3 separate regions of the Homo sapiens genome follow, and all the other regions are linked to region 2. Evidence: promoter capture Hi-C in human tissues and cell types (Jung and others, 2019). All regions are on one chromosome and are shown on one strand. The core of a region is centred on a gene start or on the middle of the fragment in contact, and the rest is flanking DNA. Distances in the headings are between cores, read along the strand shown. Region 1 overlaps LOC107987108 (a long non-coding RNA gene). Region 2 holds the start of ZNF462 (zinc finger protein 462). Region 3 overlaps LOC107987108 (a long non-coding RNA gene).

Evidence for each region. The method cuts DNA at HindIII sites, captures the fragments that hold promoters and counts their contacts. A contact is called where the count stands out against the background at its distance.
Region 1: a fragment that was not itself captured here is called in contact with the fragment with the promoter of ZNF462 in region 2 in 1 of the 25 tissues and cell types used here (dorsolateral prefrontal cortex).
Region 3: a fragment that was not itself captured here is called in contact with the fragment with the promoter of ZNF462 in region 2 in 2 of the 25 tissues and cell types used here (dorsolateral prefrontal cortex and lymphoblastoid cells).

Annotation. Positions count from the first base shown.
Region 1 is chr9:106,319,192-106,321,891 of GRCh38, forward strand. All of the region lies in intron 3 of LOC107987108 (a long non-coding RNA gene), which reads left to right. LOC124902240 (a long non-coding RNA gene) reads left to right here. Exons shown (of 2, transcript XR_007061716.1): 2 at 1-2,700. Among named protein-coding and RNA genes, the nearest start is that of MIR8081, 280 kb to the right of the region's middle. The HindIII fragment of the contact is 4,527 bases long and covers 1-2,700 here.
Region 2 is chr9:106,861,725-106,864,424 of GRCh38, forward strand. ZNF462 (zinc finger protein 462) reads left to right here and starts at 1,442. Exons shown (of 13, transcript NM_021224.6): 1 at 1,442-1,631. The HindIII fragment of the contact is 13,314 bases long and covers 1-2,700 here.
Region 3 is chr9:105,951,471-105,954,170 of GRCh38, forward strand. The region is part of intron 2 of LOC107987108 (a long non-coding RNA gene); the gene reads left to right. Among named protein-coding and RNA genes, the nearest start is that of TMEM38B, 260 kb to the left of the region's middle. The HindIII fragment of the contact is 3,247 bases long and covers 1-2,700 here.

The DNA.
Region 1 (2,700 bases), core at 154-2,653, 540 kb before region 2:
CGTTTATTTTCAGTCTACTTTTTTTGTTATACAGAGTTCTATGGCTTTGCATTTCCTTTTGTGCACCCCATTTGGCTTCTGTCCACATGTTTTATTATGAAAGGCTCTCCTTTTTATCATTTCTGAATTATTTTCACATTACATTTTGATTACTTCTTTAACCTAGCATTCTATCAAAAGGTATGCTTAAATTTCCAAATAGACAGATTATTTATTCTTCCTTGTTTTTGGATTCTGTGACAGAGAAAATGCCACGAGTTTACCCAACCCTATTTCAGGTCTCTTCTTTTCTGGGCAGGTGGAAGCTCCATACTCCCTAACACTTGCAGTTAGACAAGAGCACAAGACTAATTCTGGCCAATAAAGTGTGAGCAGAAGACATGTACAAGCTGAGTCAGTGAAAAGCCCTATTTCATTGCACAGGTCTTTGCTTTTCTGCCCTCTTGAGGGGTGAAGGCTAAGTCCTTTGTCAGGATAGCTGAATCACAGAGTGAAAGAATCTTTATTGACTGTAAACTAGTTCAACCATTGTGGAAGTCAGTGTGGCGATTCCTCAGGGATCTAGAACTAGAAATACCATTTGACCCAGCCATCCCATTACTGGGTATATACCCAAAGGACTATAAATCTTGCTGCTATAAAGACACATGCACACGTATGTTTATTGCGGCATTATTCACAATAGCAAAGACTTGGAACCAACCCAAATGTCCAACAATGATAGACTGGATTAAGAAAATGTGGCACATATACACCATGGAATACTATGCAGCCATAAAAAATGATGAGTTCATGTCCTTTGTAGGGACATGGATGAAATTGGAAATCATCATTCTCAGTAAATTATCACAAGAACAAAAAAACCAAACACCGCATATTCTCACTCATAGGTGGGAATTGAACAATGAGATCACATGGACACAGGAAGGGGAATATCACACTCTGGGGACTGTGGTGGGGTGGGAGGAGGGGGGAGGGATAGCATTGGGAGATATACCTAATGCTAGATGACGAGTTAGTGGGTGCAGCGCACCAGCATGGCACATGTATACATATGTAACTAACCTGCACAATGTGCACATGTACCCTACAACTTAAAGTATAATAAAAAAAAAAAAGAAAGAATCTTTATTGGTGAGGAGAAATAAACCAGAGGCATACCTAGAATGGATTTTGCAAGAAAAATACATTATTGTTTTGGGCTACTATTTCGGGGTTTATACCTTTATTTAGTACAGCCTATACTGATGAGTGCAAATCATTATTATTACTTCTGTCAATATCTTCATAGTCATTGGTATGTTCTCCTACCAACAAATTAGGAAACATTTCCTAAATTGTACATAGTAGCAACACAGTCAAACCAAAAATGTTCAGTAGAGGGGAAAGCCAACAAACTCTTCAGTACCATCAATTTAATGAAGTAGCTGTACTTGTGCTCTTAGTCTTCTATAAGCAAATGCAGTGTCATCCATTCAGTCATTCATTTACATTTCCCAATCCCCTATTCTTTATGGGATCTTGTGATGAGCTCTTTGGAATCCCACTATGAACAAGAACCCACCATGGAAGAAAGTGGCACGTTTTTCTAAAATTTCTGAATAAGAATGATTAAGGATGATCCAAAGCTGATGCTCTTTCCAGCATCTATGGCCTTTGATTCCTCAAATGGCTGCATCACCCATCTTTCTCACTCCTCCCATGATCATGGCTCATTATTGAATTTTTCTGATTTTGATTATTTTTCTAATTATCTCTTGTTTTGGGGGTTTTATTTTTAGCCCAACTGCTGCCTCTGATTTGAGCATTTTTTTGCACATGCTATTGTTTGCAGACACATTTTGGCTGAGACCTCATCTGATGAGCCATTTGTTAGTTCTGATTGAGTAGGTCACTTGTGGGCTCAATTAACCACTTGCCCTTCAACTGATGGTGCAAGTGGCCAATTGCACCTGCAATTAGCTAATTAAGGGTTTGGTCATTTCCATAGGCAATTTTGCCTTTATCTAATTGTGGGACTGCCCAAGCTTCCTTTCATCATTTGAGCATATACCAGCCTGTATGGGCAGAGGATGATGACTTTTGATGAAGGTAAAGTAGTAAAAAGAAAATGTAAAATTTTAATGCTCTAATGCAATTGTCCAAATTAGATTAAATATACAAATTAAAACTCTTGAATTTGTTCTGTTCATATTTTTTAAAGTCTCTATATAGATGGTTCTAAAATATTTTGCATAATGGGTATCTGTCTAAATATTTAGAATTCCTGAATTGATTTTGTGTGTGTGTGTATGTGTGTGTCTGCACATGCACATGTTGGGGGATTATGCATGTGAACTCATCCCAAGAATTTGCAATCCTGGTCTGAAAGAGCTGAAGGTACAACAGAACATAAATCATTCTCTCCTACAGAGAAATCAGGGTAAAAGAAGGCTGTAAGCTCGAGAGGAGAGGAGGGAATCCATCACTCCTAGCCTTTTGATAAATGCTTTACAAATAGCACTTAGTGGGCTGAATATTTCATACAAGATCCAGGGAGCAGACTGGAAGCACATTTTTTTTTAACTTAAAGCCAGGACAAAAGAACTGCAAACATCTCAGAACCCCTCTTCTGCCTGTAACATAAGCTGAAACCAGTCAAGTTCTTCTCATCTAGAAAGTAACCAGTTCGTAGACGACAATCAGAGAAAGCACTTATTG
Region 2 (2,700 bases), core at 192-2,691:
AGGAGACTTTCGACCTGGTGGTGGAGGGGGGGAACCACTCCTTTGCAAAAGAGATAGTTCAGAATGATACGGGAGAGATTACACTAAATAAAAATTCAAGGTGTGAAAGCTTCATCTTGGCTCGCGTGTCTTCAACACCATGACACCTTATCATTAAGAGCGCTGATTGTTACTTTCCGAGCCTTTAGATGATCAGCCAGAAAGTGCAAACAACGCGGGGCTGGAGGGTGTAAAGTTATTTAAGCAGGCGTTCTTTTTTTCTTTTGGTGCGCAGTCAAAACATTTCACAAGTTAGGAAAAGAAAGTGGTGGTTCCGAAGCTCGGAATGATGGGCTCTTTTCCTCCTCCACCCCCCCACCTTCCATATCAGGAAAGAAATAAAACGCACAATGAGCCTTTATTTCAGGAGAGAAGACTTCAAAATACGTGCCAGTAATGGACAATTTGAGCTTTTCACTGGAAATACTCACACCGCAAGCTGGAAAGGGATTAAAAAGCCCCACGTGGTTGATCTGGGTTTATACTTGCAACCTCCAGTTCCCCACGTATGTTCTTTGCAAAGGTTGGCCTCTAGATGGATGCAAGTAAGGGACCCTCTGGGGCTCGGGCTCGGCGCCTCGGGCAGGGCTGACGTTGGGAGCGCTATGAGCTGCCGGGCAGGGTCCTCACCGGGGGCTTCCTCTGCGGGCCAGGGCTGCCGGGCGCCACCGGGACGCGAGCGCGCACGCCTCGGCCCGGCGGCCGCGCTCCTCGCACCGCCTTCTCCGCAGGTCTTTATTCATCATCTCATCTCCCTCTTCCCCTTCTCCTTCTCCTTTGCCTCCTTCTCCTTTGCCTCCTTCTCCTCCTCTTCCTCCCCCTCCTCCACCACCACCTCCTCCTCCTCTGCCGCCGCCACCTCCTCCTCTTGCATCTCACTGGCCTGGCTCTGAGTGACAAAGACAATGTCCCAGCCTTAACTTTGCAACCACCTTGCCTCCTTCTGGGGTTCAGCAGGGGGGAGGGGGAACAGCAGCAGCAGCCTCAGCATCTCCTCCAGCTTCTCCTTCTGCTCTTCTCGAGCTCTTGGATAATTCTTCCTCTTTTTTCCCCTAGCCTTTTTCCTCATTTCTTTCTTTCTTTCTTTTTTTCCTTCCTCTCTGCTGCACGTTGTTGTTGTTATTAGAAAGGCTTCGCGCACCCCCTGGTGCTCCGGCGTTTTGTGTGGCAGGAGAAGATTGTCTTCCTTCTCTCTTTCTGTCTTGCTTTCTCTCTCCCCCTGGTTGCTCATTATTCAGAGAGAGACACAGAGGGAGGGAGAGAGAGAGAGCGCGCGAGGGAGAGGGAGGAGAGGAGAGAGAAGAGGAGAGAGAGGGGAGAGAGAGAGTGAGAGGGAGAGGGAGGGAGGGAGAGAGAGAGAGAGGGAGAGAGACGGATATCTCAGGTCATCTGCAGCTGCAGCGAGTCTGAGGAGCCGAGGAAGGCAGGGAAGATGGCGATCCTCCATTGCTGAGACCCGGCAGAAGCACATGAGACTCCCAAACAACTTCCACAACAATAACCCGAGCAGGAAGAGGAGAAAGAGAAAGAGGATAAGGAGGCGGTGGGGCTGGAGAACCCGAAGCACCTCCCGGCGCCGGGACGCTTCTTCTGTAAGTTACTGCAATTAACAACCACCTCGGGGTGGTCCGAGTGCTCCGGGGAAGAGAGCGCGGGGTGGTGGAGGCACAAACGCGCTCATTCATTCGGCCAAGGAGGGTTGGAGGAGCGGGGAGGAGAGGAAGTCCCCTGCATGGACTGGCTGTTGGAAGAGGAGAAGAAGCGAGAGAGAAGAGGAGGAGGGGGAGGAGGGAGAGCAGGAGGGGGAGGAGGAAGAGGAGGAGGAGAAGCGAGGGAGGAAGAGGAGGAGGAGGAAGAGGAGGAGAAGGTGGTAGTGGTGGCAGTGGAGGTGGCTGTGCTTTTCCTGCTGGCTGCTGCTCCTGCTGGGGGGAGTGAGCGCGGTGGCTTAATTAATTTCGTGTAGTTCTATGAAGAGAAGAGAAAATGAAAGATGAGTGAGAAGAGAGCTGGAGGCTTAGGACGGATGCTCCGAGTGTGGGGACAGGAGTAGGGACAGAGGGGGGCGGAGGGCGGGAGGCCGGAGACCTGAGCCGAGAGCCAGAGGGAGCGAGCGAGGGTCAGAGGAGGGAGAGCTCCGTGCGAGCGGCCCCGACCTGAGCGGGTTGACCTCTTTCTTTCTCTGTCCCTCTCCTTCCTTTCCCCCTTCTGTCTGCCTGTCCCCCGCCCGATGGCAAAGCCGTGCGGATTGGCAGCCCCCCTCTTCCTCAGGTATTTGGCTCTCTCTCTCTCTCTCTCTCTCTCTCTCTCTCTCTCTCTCTCTCTCTCTCTCTCTCTCTCTCTCTCTCTCCCTCTCCCCGAAGTTGGGATGCGGGGTCGGGATGTGTCGGGGGGTGGCTGCTGCAGCTGCTGGTGCCGGTGCTGCTGGTGAACAGAGAGGCGAGGAGCGGGGGGCACCGGCCGGGTGGGGGGCGCAGGTTCAGGAGCGGCTGAGGAGCTGTCTCCAGGCTGGAGGTTCAGAAGCGTCTGGTGGAGGAGGACAACGGTTTCTGGAGAGGAGAAGCCATTACACACGCTTGGCTCTCCTCTGAGGAAGGGAGAAAGGAAGGCAGGGGCCTGGGGGGGCGTCTCACTCCTGGTGCAGTTCCCAGGGGTCTGCCCTCC
Region 3 (2,700 bases), core at 109-2,608, 910 kb before region 2:
GCTAAAAGTTTTTGTACCTGTGTTTATGAAGGATATGAATCTATAGTTTTTAAAATTGTAATATCTTATGTAATTTTAGTATCAGGATAATGATGCTACTCTTTTTTCCTGTTTTCTGGAGGAGTTTGTGTAGAATTGTTATTTTTCTATTCCTCATATATTTGGTAGAATTCACCAGCAGGGATATCTTGCCCTGAAGGCTTTTAAATAAAATTTTTATAGAAAGGTTTTTTTTTGAAACAAGTAATTTCATCTCTTTAGTAGATATCAGGTTATCTATTTCTTCTTGATTGTGCTTTACTAGTTTTCAAAATGTATGTTTATTACATTTAACTTGTCAATTTTTCTTATCTTTTTAATATGTGTACTATTTATAGTTTTTTATTCCTGATATTCCTTCTTATTCCTGATATTGGTAATTTGCGTCTTCCCCTTTCCACCACTTTCAACTCAGTTCAGCTAGAGATGTAGGAATTTTTTTAAATTAAAGAATCATCTTTTGGCTTTATTTTATTTATTGTTTATTTCCTATTTCATTGATTTTTGCTTTTTATTTACTTTCTTCTGTCTGCTTTGGATTTACTTTGTTCTTTTTTTTCACTAGCTTCTCAAGGTCATTAATTACAAGTTATTCTTTTTTCTTTTTCCTGACATGAACATTTAAAGTCATAAATTTCCCTCTACTGCCTTTACTGCATCCCACAAATTTATTTCTATGTTGTATTTTTATTATCATTTGGTTTCAAATATTTTCTAATTCTTTGATTTTTATTTGACCCATGGATTATTGAGATATCTGTTGTCCAATTTCCAAACATTTGTAATATTCTAGCTATATTATTGTTATTGATTTATAATTTAGTCTTTTGTGGTCAAAGACCATACTTTGTATAACTTCAATCCTTTGAAATTTATCGAAACTTGCATTATGACATAACATATGTTCTATATTGGTGAATGTATCAAGTATATTTGAAAATAATATGTATTGTGTAGTTATTGGGTGTAAAGTTCTATAAATACAAATTAGGCAAAAACGAATGACATGTTCAGTTATTCTATGTATCTACTTGTTTTTTTTTCTAGTTTTTAAGTAATTTGCTGAAAGAGGGGTATTAAATTCTCCTGCTCTGATTGTAGAATCATCTATTTCTCGCTTTAATCTTATCAATTTTTGATTTGCTTATTTTAAAATTCTGTTATTAGGGACACACACATTTATAATTGCTATGCCTTTCTGATGAATTAATCCTTTTATTATTATAAAATATTCTTCATTTTTTTTCTAATACTCTTGAGATCTATTTTATCTGCTATTATCACAACCACTGTAGCCTTATTATGGTGACTCTTCATATGGTGTGTCTTTTTCTGTCCATTTACTTTCAACTTTTAAATTTATATTTAAGATATGTCTCTTGTAGATAGAATTTGGTTGGGTCTTCATTTTAAAAAATCCATTCTGATAACCTGTGCCCTTTAATTGCAGTGTTCAGTTCAATTAACATTTAATATAATTACTGATATGGTTGAATTTAGGTAGCCATTTTATTTTTTATATATTTTGAATCCCTCTCATTTGTCCCACCCTCATCTTACCTTCTTTTGGGTTATTTCAATATCTTAATTTCCATTTTAGGACACTTATTCATTTCAAATTATATTTCTGTACATTTCAAAAACATGTTTGTTCTATACATTCTTTTCACAGTTTATGCAGTCCTAATATGATAAAAAGTAGAATTATTGTAATACATAGATAGGTCTATTTACTTTCTATCTTACCACTCTTTAAGTTATAGTTGTCACATATATTACATCTAAGTACATGTAAATCCTACAAGAAAATGTCATACTTTTTGCTGTGAAATATCCTTTGAATTCTAAAGAAATTAAAAGAAGAAAGTGTTTTCATTTACCCATATATTTACCATTTATATTTCCTACTCTTCATTCATTCCTGAAAATCTAAGTTTTCCCTTGATATCATTTCCTTCAACTTGAAGACCTTTTTGTACAGTTCTGGTGGAGACCAATTTCCTTAGTTTTTCATTACCTAAAAATGTCTTTATCTCACTTTCCTTTTTGAAGCAAGCTTCACTGAATTTAGAATTCTAGGATGACAGTTATTTTCTTGTAACATGTTAAAGATGTTCCACTGTCTTCTAGCCTCTATAGTTTCTGGGAAAGGTTTGTGAGAAAAGTTTGTGATAATTTCTATCACTGTTCTCCTATATGGAACGTGATGTTCTTTTCTGGCTGCTTTCAAATTTTTGTCTTTCTCTTCCCTGAACATCAGTTTGGCTATAATGTACTTAGATATGGATTTCTTTGCATTAATTCCCTTTGAGGCTTTTTGAGCTTCCTAGATCTGTACATTTCCATCTTAAAAAAATTGGAGACGTTTTCTGGTATTTATCTTTAAAATATTTACCTGCCCCATTGTCTTTCTTGGTAAGATGTATTGAAATTATTTCATGGGTCCCTGAGGTTCTGCTTATTTTTTTTTTAATTTCCCCTACCTCTCTTATTCAAATTAGATGATGTTTATTGACCTATCTTCAAATTCACTGACTGTTTCCTTTAATCTCCATTTTGCTATTAGGACCATCCACTGAATTTTTCATTTGAGATGTTTTAGTATTTAGTACTAAAATTTCCATTCATTTCTTTTTTATATGTTATTTTTTCTTGCTGAGG